Regions from separate parts of the Homo sapiens genome. Here all the other regions are linked to region 1. Evidence: promoter capture Hi-C in 16 types of primary human blood cells and fetal thymus (Javierre and others, 2016). All regions are on one chromosome and are shown on one strand. The core of a region is centred on a gene start or on the middle of the fragment in contact, and the rest is flanking DNA. Distances in the headings are between cores, read along the strand shown. Region 1 holds the start of GPHN (gephyrin). Region 2 overlaps PALS1 (protein associated with LIN7 1, MAGUK p55 family member). Region 3 overlaps GARIN2 (golgi associated RAB2 interactor family member 2). Region 4 holds the start of GARIN2 (golgi associated RAB2 interactor family member 2). Region 5 overlaps GPHN (gephyrin).

Evidence for each region. Contacts are between HindIII fragments. The CHiCAGO score rates a contact against its expected background, and 5 or more counts as called.
Region 2: a fragment that was not itself captured here is called in contact with the fragment with the promoter of GPHN in region 1 in 2 of 17 cell types (naive B cells and total B cells); the score reaches 6.7 in naive B cells.
Region 3: a fragment that was not itself captured here is called in contact with the fragment with the promoter of GPHN in region 1 in 10 of 17 cell types (total B cells, naive B cells, M1 macrophages and 7 more); the score reaches 9.3 in total B cells.
Region 4: a contact is called between the fragment with the promoter of GARIN2 here and the fragment with the promoter of GPHN in region 1, in 10 of 17 cell types (M0 macrophages, naive CD8 T cells, monocytes and 7 more). The highest score is 11.8, in M0 macrophages.
Region 5: a contact is called between a fragment that was not itself captured here and the fragment with the promoter of GPHN in region 1, in 4 of 17 cell types (M2 macrophages, M1 macrophages, M0 macrophages and 1 more). The highest score is 8.5, in M2 macrophages.

The regions. Positions count from the first base shown.
Region 1 is chr14:66,506,767-66,509,635 of GRCh38, reverse strand. GPHN (gephyrin) reads right to left here and starts at 1,489. Exons shown (of 23, transcript NM_020806.5): 1 at 1,045-1,489. The coding sequence starts at 1,108. RefSeq lists enhancers at 205-254, 505-664 and silencers at 755-904, 1,255-1,444. The HindIII fragment of the contact is 4,318 bases long and covers 1,367-2,869 here.
Region 2 is chr14:67,306,956-67,309,824 of GRCh38, reverse strand. All of the region lies in intron 8 of PALS1 (protein associated with LIN7 1, MAGUK p55 family member), which reads right to left. It also overlaps a transcript of GPHN not described here. Among named protein-coding and RNA genes, the nearest start is that of ATP6V1D, 51 kb to the left of the region's middle. The HindIII fragment of the contact is 7,273 bases long and covers 1-2,869 here.
Region 3 is chr14:67,223,685-67,226,553 of GRCh38, reverse strand. GARIN2 (golgi associated RAB2 interactor family member 2) reads right to left here. Exons shown (of 8, transcript NM_001395907.1): 8 at 2,614-2,801. The coding sequence ends at 2,737. It also overlaps a transcript of GPHN not described here. Among named protein-coding and RNA genes, the nearest start is that of PALS1, 16 kb to the left of the region's middle. The HindIII fragment of the contact is 7,967 bases long and covers 1-2,869 here.
Region 4 is chr14:67,188,091-67,190,959 of GRCh38, reverse strand. It overlaps GARIN2 (golgi associated RAB2 interactor family member 2), which reads right to left and starts at 1,520. Exons shown (of 8, transcript NM_001395907.1): 1 at 1,391-1,520. LOC105370538 (a long non-coding RNA gene) reads left to right here and starts at 1,596. Exons shown (of 5, transcript XR_007064215.1): 1 at 1,596-1,727. It also overlaps a transcript of GPHN not described here. The HindIII fragment of the contact is 22,924 bases long and covers 1-2,859 here.
Region 5 is chr14:67,164,219-67,167,087 of GRCh38, reverse strand. GPHN (gephyrin) reads right to left here. Exons shown (of 23, transcript NM_020806.5): 20 at 1,862-1,926. The region is part of intron 1 of LOC105370538 (a long non-coding RNA gene); the gene reads left to right. Among named protein-coding and RNA genes, the nearest start is that of GARIN2, 24 kb to the left of the region's middle. The HindIII fragment of the contact is 5,581 bases long and covers 1-2,869 here.

The DNA of each region.
Region 1 (2,869 bases), core at 240-2,739:
TTTAACCCCCGTCTCGCCACTCAATTACACATAAACCTTGCCAATTACAGAACCACAGCAGAAACCCCTACAAATCCGCTTGCTGTTCATCTTGGAAGTCATGCCCTGCAGCAACTGCCGATCGCCGAAGTGACGGATATTAACCAAATTCAGCGCAACGGAATCAGACATGCAGAACACACACGGCTTTCGCGAGGGAGGGAAACGCGACCCGGGAAAAGTGCGCTCCTCACCAGCCTCGGGACGCTCTACCGGGGTGGGGGTTCCCAGAAAGGAGGGGGAGAGGAGCCCGAGTAGGGGAATCCTGCCCTCTCAAGTAAAAAGCTGGATCCCCGGCAGCAGGCTGCAGCCCGTCCTCGCTAAGGAAACGACGAGGCAGACAGAGGGCCTTTTGCGCGGAAAGGCAGAAGGCAGACACTTTCCGAGGTCCGGACGCAAGCCGATCCCCCATCCCCCGAGGGAGGCGAAGGGTGCCCCATGGGTGGCTGAGGGGACGCCCGGCCCGCGAGGGACAACCCGAGGAGGAGCAGTTTCATCTGATTAACACCTGAGTCTCGTCCAGGCAAGCACAGATACTGGCGTGGGGCCGCCCAGGTGGGGGGAAGGGAAGGAGAGGAAGGGGGTGGAGATGGGATTCCCCCCTCTCTCTGAAGAGCACTAGCGGAGGATGCGCCCAGGCCAGCCGAGAGCGGCATGCTTCAGACTGCGGAGCCGGGATCCCGCCGCCTGCACCGACAGCGCGGAGCCCCGCAGCGCCCTCCGCACCGGCCCCTCGGTCCCCGGGGGCCCAGGACTTTGCTTCCGAAGGCGCTGGGGCCTAACATCCCACGGGGTCGACCCCGGCTCCTGGGGCCTGGGGGAGGGGACCCGCGGGAACACCCCCAATCTCCGGCGGTTCTCAGCGGTTGTAAAATGCACCCCCGCGGTTCCCTTCTTCAGCCTTCCCTCCTCCCGAGGCCGCAGAGAAGGGCCACCACAGGCGAAAAGCCTAAGGCAATGCAGGGACAGCAGCCTCATAGGTCCCAGACCTCCTCCCCCGGTTACCTGTAAGGACTCCGACACGGATTTGATGGTCGTGGTTAGTAAGGATCATTCCCTCGGTCGCCATGTTTCCCAGCGCAGTCACCGCACTGACAGGAGCCGGGAGAAACCGGAGCCCGGAGCGCGCGGGCCGGGAGCGCGCTCGCCGAGGAGAGCGCGACAGCTAGGGAGCCAGAGAAGCGCGAGGAGAGCGGGGAAGGAGGGGGAGGCCACAGAGTGCACGGTGGCCTGCGTGGGGGAGAGGCCGCGCCGGGAGTGCGCGGGTCCGCGGGAGGGGAAGGAGTCAGGGCGCGCGGCCCCAAGTCCGGCAAGAAGGAGGCAAGCTTGGGGGGCGCGGTGGCCGCACGGGGAGAGCGCGCGGAGGCGGCAGAACGAGGCCGGAGAGTGTCGGAACGCTCTGCGGAGCGCGAGACCCAAGGCAGCTAGATGGCAGGACTGAGAGGAAAGGATAGCACACGCTCTGGAGGTTGCGGGGGCGGACTCGGGGACAAGGGCGGAGCTACACCCCTAGGCGTGGAACTCGTGGAGAGTGAGGGGAGGAGTGAGAGCTCGGGTGCTGAGTATTGGGAGCGGGAAGGAGCCGGCCCAGCCTGAGTAGGACCGCGGATCGCTCCTGGGCGCGCGAGTAGCACCGGATTGGCTGAGTGAACGCGGAGCGTGTGCGCGCGAGGCACGAACGCAACCTCGGCCGGGCCCCAGACAGAAGCAATCCCCTGCCGAGCCTGACACCTCGTTGGTTGTCCGCGCCTTAGGCTGGCTCTCGCCGGCGGGCCGGCTTTCTACGCGGGGGCAGCGAGGCTGGCTCAGCACCCCGGGCCTCCTCTTGCAACCCTCGGGAATGGCCGGCCGCCCCACTGAAAGCGCTGGGGAACCGAGAGGTGTCTTAGAAAGCTGCATGAGTGGCAGAACGGTGGCTACTATGACAGAGAGGCCGCCGTGGGCGAAGAGGGAGGTATCCTGTCCTGCCTCGTGCTAGCCGCTGGCTTCCTCAGTGGGCTCTCCCTGAAGGAGGATTTCCGCTTCACCTATGCTTTAGGATTCCATCTCCAGTCAGTGCCTGCAAGACGATCCTCACGTGCGAAACTGAGGAGTCTGAGGCAGGGCAGCTGGAGTGGAGATACCTGGCTTCTCTTCCTCCTGCTGTCCCACGGTTTTGTGGCCTTAAGCCTCTTCGCCATGAGCGCTGCTTTTAGATGAAAAGCATCAATCTCCTTAGCGAACGAGAACGTGTTCCACCTGAACCACAGTCCATTGCCGCGGCGATTTTCATTTCAGTATTCGTGGGATGTGAGATTACCATGAAAGTAGCTTTTGTTGCCATTTATTTCCATGTGCCTTTCATGAAACGTGTTATTAATCACCTGTGGCTATTCTACGTTAGTTTCTTACTATCGTTCTGGACCTTTCAACTTCTGAATTTTAAAAAGTTATATGCGTGTGTGTGTGTGTACACACACTCATATGTATATGTTTTCTCTTCTTAGCTGTAGTAACCTGGAGGCATAAAAGTGAAAAGCAAAGTATTAAAAGATGTATATCAGTGTTTATACACAAATTTCAAAGTCACTTTGATAGGTTTTTTTTTGGTTTTGGTTTTGGTTTTTTTTGATCCGGAGTCTCGCTCTGTCGCCAGGCTCCAGTGCAGTGGCGCGATCTCGGCTCACTTGCAACCTCTGCCTCCCAGGTTCAAGCGATTCTCCTGCGTCAGCCTCCCGAGTAGCTGGAACTACAGGCGCGTGCCACGACACCCAGCTAATTTTTGTATTATTAGTAGAGACGGGGTTTCACCATGTTGGCCAGGATAGTCTCGATCAAGATCTTGACCTCG
Region 2 (2,869 bases), core at 96-2,595, 800 kb before region 1:
CAGATCACCTGCCTAGGATGTTTATTAAAATGATGAATTCTCATGCCGCACCTCAGACTCTCAGACTCTGAATTTTAATCAGGTTCCTTGGGTAATTATTAGGTACAGCAATCTTAGGGAACTACTACCCTGAGAGAAATTAAGACCCGTGAGGAGGGAATATCTACATTTATGACCATTGCCATAGGCCAACAAAATCACCCAGAGATGCTTTTCCATGTACTCTTGCCTATGCAGTTCTCATCCCTTAACTATTCTAATTTAACTGGCTTGGAACAGGGCCCCTCTTTGTGTAGGCTGGGAAGAGAACATGCTTTACTTATGTGACAAGTTTCTCTAGTCCCATCTAAAATATACCCTAAAATTAAGAGAAAAAGCTCTTACTTTCCTAAAATTAAGAGGAAAAGGCTCTTATTAATTTTTCCTAAGGAAAATTTATTTCACATCTGAAAAATTAATGATTTGAATGAGTTAAAGTCTGGGTATTGCCTTAACAGATACTATATGACTTTTATCCATATATTCCACTGATTAATTCTTACCAGTTCTAGAAGTTATCTCCACCAATCTTTCCTGCTAGTGTCAAAATTATTTTGTTTCTCATACAACAAAAAAAGCCCCTTTAAAATGAAGGAGATAAGCTGACCCTCATAGGAAAGGTCCAGGGCCTCATAATGCTATAATAATATCAGAACAGTATATCTGATCAAAACAGTATTTGGCTTCTGAACAAAACAAAATCTTCTGTTTACATTTCAAATTGTAGAACTGTTTGGACGCAATTATCTTCCAGCCCAACATTTTCTTTTTCCTTTTTTTAATATCTATAAGCTGTTCACATTTGAAGTCGTAATGATGAAATGGGGATAGGGTACAGGGATAATGATTCATCAGTTTATTTACATGTTTTTTAGGGATCCAATGTTCCAAAATATTGTTTTTCAACCAATCAAGAAGGCTATTAGAATTACTTATTAATAAAACTTGTCCTATATTGTAATTTGGGATAGTAAGTAGAGTAGTACATATATATACAATATGGGAGGGGACATGTTCAATGTTTTTTAATTGATAAAGGTATAAAACAAAATTAGCTGGTGGCACAGTAGATGGTACTTGTACACGGTACAGGGTAGCTGTAATCCCAGCTACTTGGGAGGCTGAGGCGGGAGAATCACTTGAACCCAGGAGGCGGAGGTTGCAGTGAGCCAAGATGGCACCATTGCACTCCAGCCTGGACAACAGAGTGAAACTCTGTCTCCAAAAAAAAAAAAAAAAGAAAAAGAAAAAAATATTTGGAGAGTGCTGATCTAAAACTCAGGATCTATATTCCACTTGCTCAATGGACACTCCTTTGGAAAAGTATAAATTTGCCACAACCACCTGGACAGTGTACTTGGGAGACAACTTTGGGATTAGCTTAATGGAAAGGTTAGTACTCATGAAGGTAAGGCTATCACATTGGTGACGCCCTCAAAATCAAAGAGAAAAAAAAGAAAAAAAAAAAAAAGGAAGTTTGGTTTTTCCCTTTTCTATTGTCTAAGTATTAGGTTGGCTTTTATACTTTTTACACTGACTTTTTTTTTTTTTAAACTGTTAAGTTCAGGGATCCAACTGCAGGTTTGTTACATAGGTAAACTTGTGTGTTGGGGGTTTGTTGTACAGATTATTTCATCACCCAGGTATTAAGCCTAGTACCCATTAGTTACTTTTCCTGATCCTCTCCCTCCCCCTGCCCTCTACCCTCTGAAAGACCCTAGTGTGTGTTGTTCCCCTTTATGTGTCCACGTGTTCTCATCATTTAGCTCCCACATGTAAGAGAACATGTGGTTTTTGGTTTTCTGTTCCTGTGTTAGTTTGCTAAGGACAATGGCCTCCAACTCCATCCATGTCCCTGCAAAGGATATGATCTCATTTTTTTATGGCTGCATTCGTATTCCATGGTGTATATATACCACATTTTCTTTATCGAATCTATCATCGATGGGCATTTAGGTTGATTCCACATCTCTGCTACCAAAATATTTTTCTTTGTAATTTTTATTTCTGTATCTCTTACTATCGCAGATTTATCTTTAACTCTTAAAGTTCATTGTAGAAGAGAAAATAGTGAAAGTGAGTCAAGGAAAGCCTTTATAGCACCAAGCAAGTTTTTAAGTATCTCCACACAACACTAGAATTTCTCCTTTCCCCACATCCACCAAGAAATAAATGTCTTTATTAATACATTTTTATACCTATAATGGGAAAGCAATGTATTTGATAGCAGTGGTTCTCAACTTTTCTTTACAACACAGTTATCTCTGTAGTGCCTGGCACAGAGTACATAATCATAATAATAGCTTATATGTATTAAACAATCAATAATCTGTTAATTTTCTGGTACATATTCTGTAACTAATAAGCGATGTGATCCTTCTTCATTTAAATACACTCCTTGTTAGATTATGGCATTAGACTAAATGAAAAAGTCCCATTCAGATAAAAGTCTATTATGCCCTCCCTACATATTATTATAGTATAGAATAATCTAAAGTTTTACAAACTAGTCTGGGAAATCCAATCCTTCCTTTTTTTAAAAAGGCCGAGAGAAGGAAACTGTACGTTTGAATAATGTATGCATTTCCTAGATCAAATGTGCCAGTTACTCAGGAAGTGAAATACAGAGGTGCCAAGACTCTTGCCCTCTGCTACTGAAAGAGCAGCCACTGATTGCTATGTGTGATACAAAAGAAATTTAAGAACTCAAGAGAGCACTTCTGACACAGCTTATTATTGCCATACATGACATCATAATTCAACAAGTCATTATATAGGGGTTTCAGATAACACTTATTTTGTATATCTGTCTTAAACACATTTCTAACAT
Region 3 (2,869 bases), core at 184-2,683, 720 kb before region 1:
CCCCGTCTCTACTAAAAATACAAAAATTAGCCAGGTGTGATGGTGTGCACCTGTAGTCCCAGCTACTTGGGAGGCTGAAGCAGGAGAATCTCTTGAACCCAGGAGGCAGAGGTTGCAGTGAGCCAAGATTGTGCCACTGCACTCCAGCCTGGTGACAGAGCGAGACTCCGTCTCAAAAAAACAAAACAAAAAAAACTAGCTGGTTGTGGTGGTGCTTGTCTGTAATCCCAGCTACCCAGGAGGCTGAGGCATGAGAACCACTTGAACCCAGGAGGCAGAGGTTGCAGTGAGCCAAGATTGCGCCACTGCACTCCAGCCTGGGCGACAGAGCAAGATTCAGTCTCAAAAAAATAAAAATAAAAATAAATAAACAAGTAAATAAACAAAATGCTCAAGTGCTAAGCTGGCTTTGGTGGCAGAGTGACAGAAGGGTGGACAGAAGAGTGAGCACCTTGATTCCATCAGCAAGGCCCTGCCAAGATGGGCAAGGGGTTACTGCCCAGGCCACCCGTGGTCCACCAACCTCCCCCCTTCAATACTGTGAACTCAGCCCTTATGAGCATGCACGCGCATGCGCACGCGCGCGCGCGCACACACACACACACACACACACACACACACACACACTCACAGCATTAGCTTTATGAAGGAGGCAACAGAAGACACAATGGCCCTAAAATTGCATTGCTTCCACTCTTTCTGTGCTACTGGGTGTTGTTATCATGGCTGAGAGAAGTTTCATTTTTCAGCAACGCACTGCAGAGCTGGTGTTTCGAACAAACTTAGAATACAGTAGGCCAGGGCCACCCTATACAGCTGTGCAGATTATGAATTGCACATAAACTACAGTGTGTATGGTGTGTACAAGCTACATAACTGTACATGACAGCCCTGCAGGCACTCTACGAATATCTGTATCATTTTGCTATGAAAAAAAAGAGGTCTTGATTGTATTGGCTGATCTAAAAAGCAGGTTGGGAAAGAGCATGATAAGGTTACAAAGAAGTACAGAAATGAGAAGAATCGCTATGGTAGTGCAGCACATAATTCTCTTCCAGTGCCTCACCTGAAGCCCTCTCTCCTCCTCCCTGTGCTGATGTTATCTTTTGACCCATGATGGATTCTAGAGCAGAAACCACAACAAACCCCTAACATTTCATTCCACTTATATTGTTACTACAGTAGAATAAGATTTAATGTTAAAAGATCCCACTTATTAACAACTTTTTTGTGTGACAGTATCATAGCTATCATGTATTCCTATAGAGACTTATAATTAAAAAGTTACCTTTAGTTTGTCTTACATGTTTTTCCATCAACTTTGTCTTTTTCTGTTTTACTTTTCTTTCCTCACATTCATTCCCTTGAGAAAGGGGCAGACAGATGAGGCACAAGTTTGAGGAAATTAGAAGGAGATTTGATATGAGGGGAGAGAACTAGAGGGAAAAAAGAAAAAGAATAAGGAAAGTAAAGGAGAGATCAATAGAGAGGAAGTGAGAAAGAAAAAAAGCCAAAAGCAGGAGGAAAAAAAAGGCACAGAAGGAGAAAGAGCTTATTTTGAATATTAAATTCAGATTATGTTCTAACCACCTCATCAAAAATGTATTTATTCTTTGCAATGGAGCTTATTGTTGAATTTCACAAGCAGGTTCCCTTTTAGAGGGCTCCCTCCTTTTTTATTAAGCCTGGGTTTTATAAACAAAGAATGAACCTGGCTGCTTAGGATTCCAAGGAATTTGGTTTGTAATATTTAAGAGGAACATGGAAAAGAAAGATGGGTAAGGGTAGGAAGGAAACTCCCAATATTTTATGTGATTTTTCTTTCTCTTCTTTTCTTGAATCTCTATCCTTTGTCTCTTTTCATCTTGGAAAAAATATCAAAGAATCAGAGATAAGCCCATAATTTGGGCTCACTGTAAAAAAAAAAATTTAAAAGTTAAGGAGAATAAAGCCTAGAAAGGTAAAAACTTAAAGCTAAGAAAGTAGAGAAATGGGGCCGGGCACAGTGGCTCATGTCTGTAATCCTGGCACTTTGGGAGGCTGAGGTGGGCGGATCATGAGGTCAGGAGATTGAGACCATCCTGGCTAACACAATGAAACCCCATCTCTACTAAAAATACAAAAACAATTAGCTAGGCATAGTGGCACGCATCTGTAGTCCCAGCTACTCGGGAGACTGAGGCAAGAGAATCGCTTGAACCTGGGAGGCGGAGGTTGCAGTGAGCTGAGATCGTGCCACTGCGCTCCAGCCTGGGCGACAGAGTAAGACTCTGTCTCAAAAAAAAAAAAAAAAAGAAAAGAGAGAAATGAACTCAGATCCAGAGAGACAAATTTAACCTGGACCCTATTTCATGCATAAAGTTGTCATAAAAACAGTGCATTTGAAGTGCCACTTTATCCCAAAACCTTATGCAGAAAAGGAGAAAAAAAATTTAACTTTCGCAAACTGCTGAGAGGTTTGAGAGATGAATTTGAGATCATGGTCCCTAACTAGCATTGCTGGGTGAATGTGAATCAGATGAGCTTAATAATGCCAGGAATTTGTTTTACTACTATGGGGAGCAGTTATTATTCTGATTTCCGCCTATAATATAAATTAGAATTACGGACTCATTTTTAATTTGTACTCCAATTACATTTAATAAAATGAGGTATTAAGATTCAGCCAGTCTTTGCTTTTCTTGGGGTACAGGGTGTTAAGTGAGAGTAAAAGTGTATGGAAGGGGAACAGGTGATTTAGAGGAGAGTGAAAATGGGGAAAGAAATGCTAATCAGGGGAAAAACTGAAAAACTATACAAGCCTAAGTAAGAAAAAAGTGGGAAAACATGGGAGAAAAAGGTGGAAAGAAATAAGAAATACATAAGAGAA
Region 4 (2,869 bases), core at 271-2,770, 680 kb before region 1:
ACCTGGCTACATGATAGCTCTTAAATGACAGCATTTACCTGTCACTCATTAAAGCTGTTCTCTGTGCTCCTTGGAGCTTTGAGGTTAATTATTCCCAGCACTTTGAAGTGTGGCATTTACCTGGGTGATTTTTCCCAAGATTCTTACTATACTAATAAACATATTTTTAGGCTAGGTCCAGCACAATTCTAGGTTGCAGTTCTGGTTGCACCTTTGCAGGAGTCTAACTGTTGTGGCTTCTATCTCTTGAAAATGATATCCCCATGCCCAACCTTTCAGCTTTGAAGAGAAAGCCTTGTGTTCTGAATCTTTGAAATATTTGAGTAATTAAAAAGGGCTGTTTCCCCCAAAATTTACTCAATTCTCAGTCTTTGAGAATTTTTTCTTATGGAAGAAAAAATTGGGATAACAGTCTGAAAAATCAAAATTTCAAAACAGGCCGGGCACAACGGCTCACGCCTGTAATCCCAGAACTTTGGGAGGCCAAGGCAGGTGGATCTCTTGAGGTCAGGAGTTCGAGACCAGCCTGGCCAAATGGCGAAACCCTGTCTCTACTAATATTACAAAAATTAGCCAGGCATGGTGGTGTGTACCTGTAGTCCCAGCTACTTGGGAGGCTGAGGCACGAGAATGGCTTGAACCTGGGAGGTGGAGGTTGCAGTGGGTCGAGATCGTGCCACTGCACTCCAGCCTGGGCAACAGAGTGAAACTGTGTCTCAAAAAAAAAAAAAAGAAAAGAACAAAAGGCTGGGCACAGTGGCTCACGCCTGTAATCCCAGCATTTTGGGAGGCTGAGGCAGGTAGATCACCTGAGGTCAGGAGTTAAAGACCAGCCTGGCCAACATGTGAAACCCTGTCTCTACAAAAATACAAAAAAAAAAAAAAAAAAAATTAGCTGGGCATGATGGGCGATGCCTATAACCCTGTCTCTACTTAAAAAAAAAATACAAAATTAGCTGGGCGTGATGGCACACACTTGTAATCCCAGCTACTCGGGAGGCTGAGGCAGGAGAATCACTTGAACCCAGGAGGCAGAGGTTGTGGTGAGCCAAGATCGTGCCATTGCACTCCAGCCTGGGTGACAAAGCGAGACTCTGTCTCAAAAAAAAAAAAAAAAAAAAATTAAAAAAAATCCAGAAAACATGCTTTCATTTCAAACTCAAACTCTCAATGAAATTATTTCTAAGAAAAAGAAAAGCAGTCACCAGGTGTTAAGTCTCTCGGCTTTTCAGCTTGTTCTGGTTGAGGTAGAAGAAATGAAACTAGAAGGAGAAGAGGAAGATGGAAAAAAATAGACATTCTGCCCTCGAATTACCAGAATTAATTGAACTATTCATTTCCTTCTCCTTCAGTTTCAAACCCAAGTTGCAGTAATGAGACAGTCACTTACCAACAGGTGGGGCTGAAATAGATCTCTGGAGATCTCCTGGATGTCGACTAGGAAAATAACCTCCAAATAGCACGTTTCCACTCTTTTCACATTTCTTTAGCAGGTGTTTATGTCTACTCAGCAGGCAACTAACCACTTAGTAAAAGAAGCACAGGCCAGGCTGCTCTGGGCATTGTTCTGTTGCTGCTGCATCATAATCATAACGTGCTGACATAGTCTCTGCAGTAAGAGAAGAACGGCACTGGGGAGGAGCAGCCGTGCAGGTCTGCCCCTGAGAGGAAGTGTGGTCAGCATTCCCATGGAGCCCTGACCGGACCGCTCAGGAGTGGGCATTCAGGTGGTGGTGTGAAGTTTTCAGAGGATTTCTTGGAGAGAAAAGTCAATTTAGCAATAGTATAACCACGGGAAAAATATCAGACTTTACATCATTGATCATACAATTGATAATTTATTATTCACTTTCCCTATATCCCAAGTTTCAGAGACTTAAACATATTTAAGGCACTTTGAGCCTCTGTGAAGAAAAGCGTTAAAAGAATATAGCATTTTTAGAGGGAAACTGCTTAGAAACAGAGCTGAGGCCGGGCGCAGTGGCTCATGCCTGCAATCCCAGCACTTTGGAAGAGCAAGGCAGGAGGATTGTTTGAGCCCAAGAGTTTGAGACCAACCTGGGCAACACAGTGATACCCCATTTCTATTGAAAGAAAGAAAAAGAAAGAAAAAGAAAGAAAAGAAAGAAAGAAAGAAAAAGAAAAAGAAAGGAAGAAGGAAGGAAGGAAGGAAGGAAGGAAGGAAAAGAAACTGAGCCGAGGGCTGTATAGCATGAATATTTAATGATATTAGGCTCTGGTGGTGGTTCAATGCACTTGATTGGCTGAGTCTCTTTCTGCACTTGTCCGAGTGGTTCCCCTGTTATTGTCTCAGATGCTCTGTTTCGCCTATTCTATGTTGAGTGCCATCTTTTGGATGGACAAATTCTTCCTCTGGTCATACCTATAGTCCCACTGAGTAAGATTTCTTCATTGAGCATACTTATTGCATGATCACAACTTGCCATGTTCCTGTTCTTCCTGCCCAAGGGCCAGAAAATATTTTTGCATAGATCTGATCTCATCTCTTAACTGTTGATGATATCAATTTAATTCTGCGGTACCTTGATTAAACTTTGGTATTATCTCACGTCCATTTTTTGAGGCTACTGATACATTAAAAAGAGAAGAAATACCAAAAGAAGGAAATAAAAATAATGGTATATTTAAAATATTTACCTTCAAAAGCGTCTTTAAAATGCTTTTAAAGATGCACAAAATATAAAACTGTATGTATAACTTCATTTGGAGATTGTAAGTCTGAATTTGTGGCACTTTGTCAAAGTGAGGTCCGTGAGCAATTAGCCCTCTTTGTCCCTCATGAGATGGGCCTGCCTATTCACGCCTGCATGGGATCTTCTCAGCTGCATGTCCTAAGCTTGGGATATGA
Region 5 (2,869 bases), core at 94-2,593, 660 kb before region 1:
CAAAAAAACAAGTAAATATACAAAACTTTGATTTAAAACTTGTCGAGATTAGGGATGGCTTTAAACGCATGGCCTACAGGAAAGCAGAAATACACTTTTGAAATTGAAAATCCTTGTAAAGCTGCGCATGGTGGCTCATGCCTGTAATCCCAAAACTTTGGGACGCTGAGACAGGTGGATGGCTTGAGCTCAGAAGTTGAGACCAGCCCGGGCAACATGGTGAAACCCCGTCTCTACAAAAAATACAAAAATTAGCCAGGGGTGGTAGCAAGCGCCTATAGTCCCAGCTACCTGGGAGGCTGAGGTGGGAGAACGGCTTGAGCCTAGGAGGCAGAGGTTGCAGTGAGCTGAGATCGCGCTGCTGCACTCCAGCCTGGGCGACAGAGCCAGACCTTGTCTCAAAAACAAACAAACAAACAAACAAAAAACACAAAACACAAAAAACAAACAAAACCAATAACAACAAAAACAAGAAAGAAAATCCTTGTAAATGGAACCACTTTGCACATTCTACAATCTGAACATGTGAGTTTCTGCTGCCCTCTGTTGGTTCACTCAGGCTGAGCAGATAAGGTTTCAAATTAAAAGTAGGAATTTGAAAACAGGTTTTAATTTTATAACATCTTTGGCATAATGGTGAAATAGGCTCCCACAGTAACATTCTTTGTTATAATATCACTGATGGTCTGTAGGTTAAGTCATATCTTCCGTAGACAAAAGAGGCTCTTCCAGGCTAAATGAAGCTAGGAAAAGGAGCACATTTCTTTATACAATGGCTATCAGAGCATCCAAGGAATTATGAAAGGTCCTAAGGCGTTTCATGTTACAGATACATTCTGAGGACTATTTTACTTAAATGTTCTCTCTCTGAAAATTTTCTACATGATAGAAATCTAATCTCTTTTATGCTTATAGATAGGGGCTTAAAATGTTTTCAAAGTTTAACATTTTTCTGCCTGCTTCCATTTCTTTACATTTCCATTTTGAGATATACTTGACCTAAAAAACAAACAAAGATCCAAAAGCCATGAGATTTGTAAATCTTAAAGAAATAGGTTATTTTCTAAAGGAATCTGTGCCAAAAAATAGAGAACTGAACAGAATGATCAGAAGATAATTTTAAAGTTAAAAAAAAGATGCACAATAAATTATTTTAAAATTTATCAAGATTCACCATGACTTTATATAACCCCAAATCACAAAAAATTTGAATTTGAAAATCATCGTGAACTGAACCTGCTTTGCTCTTTCTATAATCTGAACATGTGAGTTTCTGCTCACGTTGGGACAAGGGTGGGAGTGGGGAAGTTGTAGACTGATGATGAGTAGGATTTGGCTGAGAAGCACTAGTTCCAGTAGCCTGGCCTTTCCTCTTCCCCCTCCCCTCAACCAGCCCAAATCTGGCAAGGACCAGAGGCAGCTTTGTATTTTTTGATTTGGTATTTGCTTGGGTGACTCAAGGCATTTTGGCCTCTAGAGCACAATACTTCTGGTTATGAGAGGTATTCGGCTGCTAACTTCGACCAATTTCCTGTAAGGAAAAAGCAGGTGCTCCAGAAAGATCTAGTGACAGCTAACACTTGATGATCATCTTAGGATTTGGAATGTGCTTTGATAGGATTTGGAATGTGCTTTGATATATATTATCTAATCTGACTTTCACACCAACCCTATGAAGTAGATATTAGTCTTATTTTATAGGTGAAGAAACTTCCTAGAGAGGTTAAGTGATTGGTCGTTTAGAAAAGCTGAGACTTGAGCCCAGGTCTTTCAGATTTCAAACCAGGTGGTCACATGAGAAGTCCAAAAAATTTTGGCTATTTTTCCAGAAAAAGGAAAGGAAACAATTTGTTATTCTTACCAGGTAGTGCAAAGATTATTTTTCTTACACCATCAATATCCAAAGTTGCAAATGTTGTTGGCAAGCTAGAAGAAAAAAAGAGTCACTTGTTAGTGATTGCTAAGCAATATGATGAATACATTAAGTACTCCAGTGTTTTTGTAATCCATACACTTATCATATAAAAAACACTTTTCTGTTGACTTGCCTTTACATCTTTATACTCTGAAGTATTCCACAGACACTTAAATAAGTTTGTTTTTAGTATTTCCTGTTTTCAAGTAACCACACTTTCTGGTTTAAAGAAAACTACTTACTTTTTTTTTTTTTCTTGCCAGTGCCATAGAAATGTACTCCAAATCTTGGAGTTTCCAAGTTTTCCCACCCCTCTAGTTAATAATGTTTATACTACTTTTGCTGGCGATTTACAACAATCATTCTTAAAAGCAGAAGACTGGCCAGGCATGGTGGCTCACACCTGTAATCCCAACACTTTGGGAGGCTGAGGGGGGTGGATCACTTGAGGTCAGGAGTTTGAGACCAGCCTGGCCAACATGGTGAAACCCTGTCTCTACTAAAAATACAAAAATTTGCCAGGCATGGTGGTGTGCGCCTGTAATCCCAGCTACTCGGGAGGCTGAGGCAGGAGAATCGCTTGAACCTGGGAGGCAGAGGTTGCAGTGAGCTGAGATGGCCACTGCACGCCAGCCTGGGCGACAGAGCAAGACTCCATCTCAAAAAAAAAGAAAGCAGATTACCTGATAATATGTCTATCAGACAGTTGCCTATTGTTCAAAATGAGTATTTTTTAACCTTTTTCTTTCAATCCTGCTCCTTCTGTATTAGCCTTTTAAAACTATCCTTAGCATAGACATAAACACTTCCCTCTTATCAAGACATTATTTTTGAAATATCAAAATAAATAAAATATCATGACTAGAACAAAATTAACAGTTTTTTTTTTTTTTTTTTTTTTTGGAGATGGAGTTTTGCTCTTTGTCGCCCAGGCTAGCGTGCAAGGGTGTGATC